Regions from separate parts of the Homo sapiens genome. Here regions 1 and 2 are each linked to region 3. The links are contacts of gene promoters, found by promoter capture Hi-C in human tissues and cell types (Jung and others, 2019). All regions are on one chromosome and are shown on one strand. The core of a region is centred on a gene start or on the middle of the fragment in contact, and the rest is flanking DNA. Distances in the headings are between cores, read along the strand shown.

What was found. The method cuts DNA at HindIII sites, captures the fragments that hold promoters and counts their contacts. A contact is called where the count stands out against the background at its distance.
Region 1: a contact is called between the fragment with the promoter of NOVA2 here and the fragment with the promoter of HIF3A in region 3, in 1 of the 25 tissues and cell types used here (IMR-90 fibroblasts).
Region 2: a fragment that was not itself captured here is called in contact with the fragment with the promoter of HIF3A in region 3 in 1 of the 25 tissues and cell types used here (dorsolateral prefrontal cortex).

The regions. Positions count from the first base shown.
Region 1 is chr19:45,972,074-45,975,625 of GRCh38, forward strand. It overlaps NOVA2 (NOVA alternative splicing regulator 2), which reads right to left and starts at 1,792. Exons shown (of 4, transcript NM_002516.4): 1 at 1,194-1,792. The coding sequence starts at 1,278. RefSeq lists a silencer at 1,958-2,117. The HindIII fragment of the contact is 35,305 bases long and covers 1-3,552 here.
Region 2 is chr19:46,705,085-46,709,044 of GRCh38, forward strand. The region is part of intron 3 of PRKD2 (protein kinase D2); the gene reads right to left. Among named protein-coding and RNA genes, the nearest start is that of MIR320E, 2.3 kb to the right of the region's middle. The HindIII fragment of the contact is 4,012 bases long and covers 1-3,668 here.
Region 3 is chr19:46,295,578-46,299,580 of GRCh38, forward strand. It overlaps HIF3A (hypoxia inducible factor 3 subunit alpha), which reads left to right and starts at 1,465. Exons shown (of 15, transcript NM_152795.4): 1 at 1,465-1,525. The coding sequence starts at 1,500. The HindIII fragment of the contact is 13,814 bases long and covers 1-4,003 here.

The sequences.
Region 1 (3,552 bases), core at 542-3,041, 320 kb before region 3:
CACTCAGCCATTTCACACACACACCTCTCCTTGTTACACCCATACACACAGCTGGGTGTCATATGCACACGTGCCCTGTCACATGGGGACCCATCCTTCCTTCTCCTTTTTACACACCCTCGTGCGTTTCACCCACAAGCCCCAGCCTCTCCCTCGTCATACACCCACCTTCCCTGTTGCACACACCCCCTCTGATGTCACTGTTGCACACCTCCATGTGTCACACCCAGCCACAGCCTCTCTGGAGTCACACCCACACCCTTTTCTTGTCACATCCCCTCACCAGCCACGCCTGTGTCACACACACTGGACCCCTTTCCTCTGATCTACACGGCCTCTTCTGGCTGACACCCAGAGCCAGCCCATTCGGTGTCCCCCACACACCTCCTTGCATGTCACACACACCCTCTCATGTGTCACACTCTGCCACAGCCCCCTTGGGGGTGACAAGCACACACCTTTCCTTGTCACACGTACCCGCTGGAGGGTCTCAAACATGGAGCCCAGCCCCTGTCCCCTGTCTTTCTCATACACCCCCCTATGCTGTCATATTCCTGATCCCTAATGTCACACATCCAGGCTGTAGAGGGCACACATACACACACACGCACACACATACACACCTGTCCTAGCCTCACATTCTCCCACCTAGCTTTACACACCCACCATTTCCTCCATTTCACCCCACACACCTACCCAGCCTGTCCCCACGCACGATCCGGCCAGGGCCACACAAGCCTCCATCTGGGACAACCCTTGTTCAGGACATCCCCAGGGAGGGAGGCTGGGAAGCTCCCGGTCCACAGGCCTCTACTCCTTCCCCTCCCCCAGCCAGGACACGCGAGCTCGGGGAACACCCCTGCTCCGAAAGGGTCACATCACACACCCCTCAAGGACACACAGACACCTGCCCTGAGGCTCCCACGCCCCCCATCTTCTGCGCCCCCCAAGGACACTTATCACCCCCTCCCCCCCACCCCTCTCCTCGCAGACAAAGCTCCCAGCCCCGGGCCTCAGCGAGAGGAGGAGGGGGTCCAGCCCCCTCCTCAACTCCCCGCTCTGTCCCCCGCCTCGGGGAGGGGTGTCTCTCCCCTCCCCAGAGCCCTTGCACCTGCCACGGGAGGGGGGGAAAGGATGGAGAAAGGCGAGGCCCCCTGCCCGCTCCCCCGCCCCGAGCCGCAGCCCTTTCTCACCTCCCGTGTTGCTGCGCTTGGTGCAGACCACCTCGGGGGGCGTTTCGAGGGGCCTCTTGCGGGAATCCGGGGCCTCGGGCTCCATGGGGGGGGCCTGGGGCGGCGGCTGCTGCTGCTGCGGCGGCTGCGGCGGCGGCGGCGGCGGCTGCTGTGGCGGCGGCGACGGCTGCTGGGGAGGCTGGGGTTGCGGCGGCGGCGGCGGCGGGGGCGGCGGCGGCTGCGGGGCCGCGGAGGCCGTGAAGAGGCCGTGCACCGCGCCGGCGGCCATCATCCTCATGGTGGGGGGGGGCGGGGGGCGGGGGGCGGGGGAGGGGGAGGGGAGGGGAGGTGGGAGGGGGAGGGGGCGGTGGAGGGATGGGGGAGGGGGAGCCCCGGAGAGGGAAGGCGGGGGTAGGGGGGAGCCGGTTCTCGGGGGGCTGACAGAGCCTGGAGAGCGGCCGTGAGCAGGATGGCAGGGCCGAGGGGGGTCTCCGATAGGGCCGGGAAAGAACTGAGAGGTGGGGTCTCTCCTGGGACCACAGAGGCTGGGGACTGGACGCGCCACTGGGGGGACGGGACTCCCCGCTTCTTCTTGGCTCCCTGGGGCAAGAGGGCCGAGCCCCCCAGACCCTGCTCGGGGTGGGGGGCCGGAGGAGCGTGGCCGGAGTGGGAGGCGGAGGCGGCCGCTAGTGGGGGCCCGGGGGGCGGCGGGCGCGGGCGGCGGCGGCGACGGGGCTGGCGGTGGCTGCTGGCCCGAGCATCTTCTTCCCGGAGGCTCCCACAGCGCCTGGCCCCTCCCACCCAACGAGGTCACGCCCATGCCGGGTAGGGCCACGCCCTTCGGCGCCCCCATTGGTCCAGCCTTGAAGCCTGGACCACGTCCCTCTGGGTTGGCCACGCCCCTCCCGGCGGCAGAGAGCTGGACCCGACTCCCCCAGGCTGCTGGGAGGACCCCGGGCTCCTCCAAGCCGTCCCCACTCCTCACCTTGAATGAACGTTTATTGAGCACTTACTGTGTGCCAGGTCCGGTTCCAAGCAAGCACGTCACAGACGTTATCGCATTTACTCCCCAGAGCGACCAGCTCTGTGAGTTACGCTTATTATCCCTATTTTACAGATGAGGAAACAGCCTTAGGAGCTTACTTTGACTTCACTTGGTCAAGACAAGAAATTTCGACTAGGCGCGGTGGTTCATGCCTGTCATCCCAGCACTTTGGGAGGCCGAGGCGGAAGAATCACTTGAGCCCAGGAGTTTGAGACGAGCTGGGCAACAATATTGTGAGACCCCATCTCTACAAAAAAAAAATTTTTTTTTTAATTAGCCAGGCGTGGTAGCACATGCTTGTAGCCCCAGGTACTCTGGAGTCTGAGGTGGGAGGATCTCTTGAGCACAGGAGTTTGAGGCTGCAGTCAGCCATGATCAAGCAACTAGATTCGAGCCTGGGAGACAGAGCAAAACCTTGTCTCAAAAAAAAAAAAAAAAAAGAAAGAAAGAAAGAGAAAGAAATTTCACTTCACTCTTTTTCAATCCTTTCAGCTGGGAAATTCCCCTTCAAATCTTTCATCCATCCTTTGAAGAATCAACACCGTGATGCTGAAAGGGCTCAGAGGATTGAATTCACTGAGCTGGAGTTGCAGCCTGCAGCACCTGCCCTGGGGCACAACTGGCTCTCCATTCAAACAACAGCACTCAGGGCCTACCTACTAAGTGCCAGGCACTGTCCCTGATGCTGCGATACAATAGAGAACAAAACAGCCTTGGCCCTTGTACAGTATTACTACTCATGTCATTAAGAAAAATTTGTTTTCAGATGACAAAGTGGAGGCCTGGGAACATTGAGGGTGGCTTCTTCAAGGGCACACAGCTTGAGAGAGAGAAACTGGGATGAGAACGCAGGACAAGTCCAATTTCAGAGCCCAAAGTCATTGGAACTAGGGTGCCTTTCTTTGGAATGGATCATTGCTATTATTCTGTGTTCCTTGATGCAAGAATTTCCTTCTCCCTGGGTTCTTAACCTCCAAGGAATCTTTCCTTCCTGGGTTGGTCAGAGGCAAGATTAGGCTCAGAAGGGGTCTGGATGCAGGTAATTGTGGCCACTGCGTGATCTGCGGCAGGGGGATCGGCTCCAACCCCCCCCTGCTCCTCCCTTGCCATGCTCTCAGGTCCCCAGGATGGGGGAGGGTAGCAGATGGCCTGGGGTGGATGGGGTGGCTACCCATCTGTCCCCTCCCCCCCATTGTCCCCAGAGCCAAGGGGGATGGGAGGGGGCTGTGGTCCACTGCAGTCTGGATCCTCCCCCTCCATCTTCCTGGAGGGAGCTGAGGAGCTGGTTGCCATGGAGATGGGGAAGAGGCAAGACGGATATAGGGAGATACGGGG
Region 2 (3,960 bases), core at 413-2,912, 410 kb after region 3:
ACCCCTAGTTCCAGCTTGTAGCCCCGACATCACCCCATCTGCCCCCCAGGCCCTGAACGCGCCTCACACCCCACCTTTTCCCACTGCAACAATGGATGCCTCAAAAGTCCCCGCCAAAGCTCTGACCCAGCCCCAGTCCTCTATGGTAAGCACCTCCTTCTAGTCCTCCCCAAAACTCCTGTCCATCTCCCTAGAGACACCTGTTCCCCCTTCTAACCCTGACCTTCCTTTTTCTGAGGCCCCTTTGGTTCCCCCTCTTTCCCCAACCCCAACTTTCCAAAAGAAAATGCCTCTCCTCACCCCCACCCCTAAGGTCACTATCCCTCCAGGTCTGCTCACCCCCTGTACCCCACTTTCTCTTTTCTGTAGACCTGGAATCCAGGCAATCCCTAAGTAGTGTGATTAAATCTTAGTAGTGTGGGCCACGCATGGTGGCTCACGCCTGTAATCCCAGCACTTTGGGAGGCCAAGGCCGGCGGATCACTTGAGGTCAGGAGTTTGAGACCACACTGGCCAACATGGCAAAACCCCATCTCTACTAAAAATACAAAACTTAGCCGGGTGTAGTGGCACACGCCTGTAATCCCAGCTACTCCGGAGGCTGAGGCAGGAGAATCACTTGAACCCAGGAGGCAGAGGTTGTAGTGAGCTGAGATCACGCCACTGCACTCCAGCCTGGGCAATACAGCGAGACTCAGTTTCAAAAAAAAAAAAAGAGTTCTCAGTTGTACTCAGGTCCATTGTACCATACTAGGCAGAAGTATGACTTCTTATTGTCTTATTTTATTTTGTAGAGACAGGATCTCCCTGTACCCCCGGCTGAAGCACAATGGCACAATCATAGCTCACTGCAGCCTTCAACTCCTGGGCTCAAGTAATCCTCCTGCCTCAGCCTCCTGAGTAGCCAGAACCACAGACATACACTACCATGCCCAGATAATTTTTTTATTTTTATTTTTTTGTAGAGATGGGGTCTCGCTACATTGCCCAGGCTGGTCTTGAACTCCTGGGCTCAAGTGATCCTCCCACCTCAGCCTCCCAAAGTGTTGGGATTACAGGCATGAGCCACTGTGCCCTGCCTATTTTATCTTTTAAAATCCTCATCCATGGAGAAATCAGCTCAACTCCCTGTTTCCCACTGGACGTTCTGTATGTGTGCTCTAATACATCTCCAGTGATTCCAAACGATTCCAGGATCGCTTTCTATTCTGGAGTGAAGAATGTTCCTCCAGCCTTTGGGAGCCCTTCTGGTACCCGCCTGCTCCAGGCTTTCCAGTTCCACACCTCCTCATTGTAGGCACTGTCTTGGCTGCATGCTGTAATCACGGAGGCAAGCTTGGAGAACGGTGTTGGCCCTGCAAGAAGAGCTTCAGCAGGGCAAATGGTCTTTGCACACAGGAACCATTTCCCAGTGTTGGCCTTGAATCACTCATGTGCCTTCCAGAATTTCAGAATCTTATCTATAACTCTCAGAATGAGTCTCAGGATAGAGTTAAACTCCTGTCGGAATGTAGTCATTTGGGGTTCTCTTGCCACCATAGGAACTGGGACCATCATCTGTGATGCTGCACCAGTGAAGTCTGTGCTGATAACCCATTAGGACTTGATGACACCAGGGCTGTATCATGACAAAGACTGCATATGCTGAGACCTCAAGAGTTGGATATGGTGTGTGGACGATGGCAATATTTATAAGAGCTTTTAATGCACTGAATCAGTATCTGCAGGCCTAGAGTCCTTAAATAATACAAGTATACTTTGGACTGCATGATGATCTGGAACACAGGATATTGGAGAAACTGGATTTCTTTTTTTTTTTTTTTTTTGAGACGGAGTCTCACCCTGTCACCCAGGCTGGAGTGCAATGGTATGATCTCGGCTCACTGCAACCTCCACCCCCTCAGGTTCAAATGATTCTCCTGCCTCAGCCTCCCGAGTAGCTGGGATTATAGGTACCCGCCACCACACCCAGCTAATTTTTCTAGTTTTAGTAGAGACAGGGTTTCACCATGTTGGCCAGGCTGGTCTCTAACTCCTGACCTCATGATCCGCCCGCCTTGGCCTCCCAAAGTGCTGGGATTACAGGTGTGAGCCACCGTGCCTGGCCCAGAATCAGGATTTCTGTACAAGCGTGGCACCCACGGAGCTAGAGATGCTGTCTCAGACCTAATACCCAATGGAACATCCAAGAATATGGCTCTAATTGCAGGGCACACCATACAAAAATGGAGGCGCATGGGGCCCAGCGCAGTGGCTCATGTCTGTAATCCCAGCACTTGGGGAGGCTGAGGAGGGTGGATTACTTGAAACCAGCCTGGCCAACATGGTGAAACCCCGTCTACTAAAAATACAAAAATTAGCCAGGAGTGGTGGTGCGCACCTGTAATCCCAGCTATTTGGGAGGCTGAAGCAGGAGAATTGCTTGAACCCAGGAGGTAGAGGTTGCAGTGAGCCAAGACCACGCCACTGCACTCCATCCTGGGTGACGGAGCAAGACTCTGTCTCACACACACAAAACAATGGAGCCACAGGGTCTCATCACAGAATGGATGGTCCTCACCTGTCATCTGTCCTCATAGCCAATGCAGGTACATGGCCTTCATCTGTAGGCAGAGCCCCGATTTCAACATTCTCACTCAGAAGCATGAATAACAGGGACAGAGGACCTATATAGATCTTGACACTTGGGCTGAACCTTGAGACATCTTGGCTTAAAGAACTGTATGTTTTGGACAGGCGCGGTGGCTCATGCCTGTAATCCCAGCACTGTGGGAGGGCAAGGCGGGTGGATCATTTGAGGTCAGGAGTTCAAGACCAGCCTGGCCAACGTGGTGAAACCCCGTCTCTACTAGAAATACAAAAATTAGCCGGGCAGTAATGGTGTGTGCCTGTAATCCCAGCTACTCGGTAGGCTGAGGCAGGAGAATCGCTTGAGCCTGGGAAGTGGAGGTTGTGGTGAGCTGAGATCGCGCCACTGCACTCCAGCCTGGGTGACAGACTGAGACGCTGTCTCCAAAAAAGAAAACCTGTATATTTTTAAACTATGATTTAAGGAGATATGTATGGGTGCTGTTATGGACTAAATGTCTGTGTCTCCCCCAAAATTCTTATGTTGAAACCCTAACCTCCAATGCAACTATATCTGGAGACGGTGCCTTTATGGAGGTAATTAAGGTTAATTGAGGCCGAAAGAGTGTGGCTGTAATCCAATGGGACTGGTGACCTTTTTTTTTTTTTTTTTTTTTTTTTTTCTGAGACAATCGTGTTCTGTCACCTAGGCTGGAGTGCAGTGGCATGATCACGGCTCACCGCAGCCTCAACCTCCCAGGCCCAGGTGATCCTCCCACCTCAGCCTCTTGAGTAGCTAGGACTAGAGGTATGCACCACCATGCCTGGCCAATTTGTTGTATTTTTTAGAGACGGGGTTTCACCATGTTGCCCATGCTGGTCTCGAACTCCTGGACTCAAGCGATCCACCATCCTCCCAAAGTGCTGGGATTATAGGCATGAGCCACCATGCCTGGCCTTCCTTATAAAGGGAAGAGATACCAGGGATCTCTCTCTCCGTGTCCCATGTGAGCGCACAGTGAAATGATGGCCCTCTGCAAGGCAGGAAAGCAGGCTACACCAGAAACAGAACCCTGCCAGAATCTGGATCTTTGTCTTTCCAGCCTCTCACAATTCCAGGGATTTTGAGAAGTAAATGTCTGTCATTTAAGCCACGCAGGGTGGTATTTTGTTAAGGCAGCCCTGACAAACTAAGACAGGTGCCAGGTTGACAAGAGATGGACCCTGATAGTCATGTTAATGTGTCAGCTTGGCTAGGCGAGATCCACAGTTATTCAGACACTAATCTAGATGTTGCCATGAAGGTTGGTTTGTTTGTGGTTTTTTTTTTTTTTTTTTTTTTTGAGACGGAGTCTCGCTCTGTTGCCAGGCTGGAGTGCAGTGGCACGATCT
Region 3 (4,003 bases), core at 215-2,714:
CTCAAGTGCTGGTGTCAAAACTGCCTTTCACAATCGTTCATTTCTGCACAATCTCTTTTGCACTGAACCTCATCTCATAAAGCCTCTCCTCTCTTTGTGGCAGTGTGAGCCCCATCTGCTCCATCTGCCCAGCAATTCCAGCAGACATAGAAAATCCTCTTTCCTAATGGTTTCAGCAAATGTCTCAGGGTTGATTCTCATTGGGCTAAATTAGGTAACATGCCTTCCCTGAACCAATCACTGTGGCCAGGGAAGCAGACTCAACTGATTAGCCAGGTTTGGATCCTATGTCCATCCCTGGAGCTGGTGAAGGCAGAGCAGTGGCCAAGCCCTATTCAAATTAAATAGATGAAGAGGACAGAGAAGTGGTTTCCCAAAAGAAAACAGAGTGGGGAACTGGCGTGAGCCGGGGAGCCGTGTGGATTCCTGGAGGAAGAGTGTGCTAAGCTGTGGGAACAGCAAGTGCAAAGGCCCTAAGGTGAGCAACTTGCCTGGCAAGTTCAAGGTTCAACAAGGCCACTTCTGCTGTAGTATCCTCTTCCCTGCCAACCAAATCCAGAATAGTGGTCCAACACACACACACACACACACACACACACACACTCTGTTCCTTATCCAACTGTAATGCTTTCACCCTTGCTTGGTACCTTTGTACTTCTCCCTTCATAGTCGACTAGTTAAAAAAAAATACATTTCTCGGCTCTTTTTTGAAGTAGGTGTGATTGAGTTAAAACATATTTACTTGACATAAGCTTAATTATTCATCAATGGGAACCTGAAAAGGGAGTCAGAGAGGCCAAGAGGTTAGGGTGGAGTAGAGGGGGTAGGGAAGGTAAGCTGGGGTGCAGAGGGTGCAGACTGGAGGAATGGGGGCGAAGTGGGGTATGGGACTGGGGTGGCAGGGAGGGGCTGGGGAGAGAGAGAGAAGGGTAGGTGCCAGAGGGCCAAGGATTGTGGAACTGGGGTGGGGTTGGGAGTTGGGGGGTGGGGAGGAGATGTGGGGTACTCTGTGAATACCTTAGAAGGGATAGAGAAGGCAGGGCTAGGGGTTTGGAAGGGGTGGGATTGGAGGTCAGAGGGGCTCAACTGGGGTTAGGAAATGGAAAGGTGAGAAGAGGTGGGGGTTAGAGGCTGGGGACTGGGGTCCAGAGAGCAGAGTGAACTGAGTGGGTTCAGAAGAGTACTGGCGTTGGCACTTCAGAGGCTGGACTAGAGAAGGCGCGTTCAGCCGACGGTGCGGGATACACTGCCGAGGAAGTCCGCGGCGAGGGGCGTGGTTGGGGGGTGTGTATTACACGGTATCCCCCCCTTGCCTTTCCAAGTCTTTCCCTCTGGTTCCGCCTCCTTTTCAGGAGTGACATACCGTTGCCCAATCAGAGCCTCAGGCCTGGCGTGGCACAGCCAACCGCGCGGCGTGGGGAGGAGCTGGGGAGGGGGCTCGCAAGGCCGGGGAGGGGGCTAGGGGCCTCCGAGGGCTCCGGAGCGGCGACTGGCGAGCCATGGCGCTGGGGCTGCAGCGCGCAAGGTACTGAAGTTCGGGGGCAGGAGTTCTGGGAATTGGGGGGCTCTCCTCCTGGAGACCCCTGAGCTGGATTGTTGGGGGGGGTGGGGTTCGCGGGTGCGAGCCAAGAACGCCCCGGGGCGCGCAGTTGGAGGCACATCCCCACCGCACTCTCCACCCTTAGGGACTGCAGGGGTGGGGGATTCCCTACGTCTCTGGCTGCCCCGCCCCTCTGGCCAAGAGCGGCTTCGGGGTTCCCGATTTCTCGCTACCCAAGGCTCATTTACCCTCCTGGTTGGGGGTGGAACTTGGGATTCCTGATAAATTAGGGGTGATTGCATTTGAGCAGTCCCCAGGCTTCTGCGGGAGATATTCGCCCTCCACATATTGATCCCTCTGGCCTCTGAACCCCCCAAAATTGAGGGTATTCTTTGCCACCAGGTGCCTGGGATCCTAGGTGATATGGGATACCCCTAAATGGAGCCTTCCCACATATAGGGAGTCCCTTGGAATGGCATTCAGCTCCTGAGTTCAAGAGAGGAGAGATCTCCTCTAATAGTATGCTTCCTGACACAGTCTCCTAAACATTGGGTTTCCCTAGAAATGGGCAGAGGGGAGCCCCTTTCAGAAGCCGTCTGGGACCCTTCCCAAGAGACTTTTTGTATCCTTTCAAAAGCCAGAGTCACCCCCTTAAATAACAGGGAAACAAGCTGGACCCACTTCCCAAAGTCCAGCCCCTCATCTCACCCCTGCACCCCCATCCTGAGAGACAGGGGAGCCTCATCCAAGCTTTATTTTGGGGAGACTCCATGGCAGGGTGCTGTGAGCCTGCAGGCTGTGATGGGAACGCCCCCTGCCGCAGTACTCAGATGGGGTCATCCCGGGCAGAGGGTGGGTTTCTGGGTTCACTTGCCCAGCAGGTGCAGCTCTGCTGGAACACAGGGGAACCTGTGCCCTGGGGCCGCTGCCGGGGGGTTTTATCTGGCCATGTTCCCATGGGACCCTGGAAAATGTTCTAGGTCCTCAGCTTTCCCTGTCCAATGTGAGGCACCCAGTAAGCCTCACCCCCTTCCCTCCTCCCTGGCTTCTCAGGCCTGATTGGATCCATGCACACCCCATGTTTCTAACCGCCCCCATCCTCTCCCCTGTCCCCTACTCTATTCCAGGCCCTGGCTCTGGGCCTAACAAGGAACTCTATCCCACCCCTTTTGGGCCAGCTGTCGTTCCGCCCCTCTCAGCGCCCCCTCCTGGCTGGGTGGGGGCCCCTCTTGGCTGAGCTCGGGTGCCCCCCCTCCCCACCCAAGGCCGGCCCTTTCCTGTGGAGTCATCTCACCGCCGTGCGCACCCACTCGTAACTCGCACCCGGGTCCTGGCTGCACCGCATCCCCTCCTGCACCCCCTGGATGGCCCTTCAGCCAACGGGGGCCTGGGCGATGGTGAGTGGGCCCCCAACACCTCCTTTCCCCCTTCCCTTCCTCTAGCTGGGGCTGGCTGCCATCCCACTGTGGCCAAGGATGCTCTTGGGAAGTCCCTGGTGGGTACGGCTTGCAGCCCAGAGTGCCCAGTGAGGTAGTATTCCCGGAGAAGATAGGATTTTGGGGACCAGCACCCTACCAGATTACCATGTCCTTGAGAACAGGCAGAGTCGGGGGGCAGAGAGACTCCCCCAGACCCCCATGCCAAGTCCCTTTGCAAACCCAAACCCTGCCTCTGGTCTCTCAGGACACCTCTCTGCAATGCCAAAAGGCATCCTTGCCCAGCTACAACCTAAACCCCCACCCACCAAATCCTCTGTGCTTTTCGTAAGACGCCCCCCCCCAATACCCAGCTGGGTGTCAGAATAGAAAAGCCCAGAAGTAGCCCTGAATGTGGGCAGGGACTGCCTGCTTTTATTATGCCTTCCTCATGGGTGGCAAATTCTTCAGGGCAGGGAAGAGGTGAACTTCTCTCCTTCCTGGTTGGAGGGGGGCACTGGGCCCCAACCCCCATTCTCAGGCCTCACCCTGAGCCCGCCAGGCCCTGGCCCCACCCCCTGTTCTTGGCTGGAACACGGAGGAAGGGTGGCAGGGTTCCAGCTGCACGTCCCAAGCTGGGCAGAGTGCCAGGGGGCTGGACCAGGGCTGGGCATGGGGCCAGCTGGGGCGATCTGGAGGCAGCAGGGGTGTGACGGGGGAAGGGACCGAGGCTGCTAGGCAAAAGAGGGGTGGGGCAGGGGCCTCTTGGGTGGGGGCCACACCTGCCAAGAGCACAGGGCCCAAAGACAGGGTTCAAATCCCATCTCACCCACTTCCTGGTGGTGTGGAATTGTGTCAGTGACTGCCGCTCTGAGCCTCACTTTCAGATCCTGGAAATACGGGCAGGCCGGGTGCGGTGGCTCAGGCCTGTTATTCCAGCACTTTGGGAGGCTGAGGTGGGCGGATTGCTTGAGTTCAAGACCAGCCTGGGCAACATGGCAAAATCTCATCTATACTAGAAGTAAGCAAATTAGCCAGGCATGGTGGT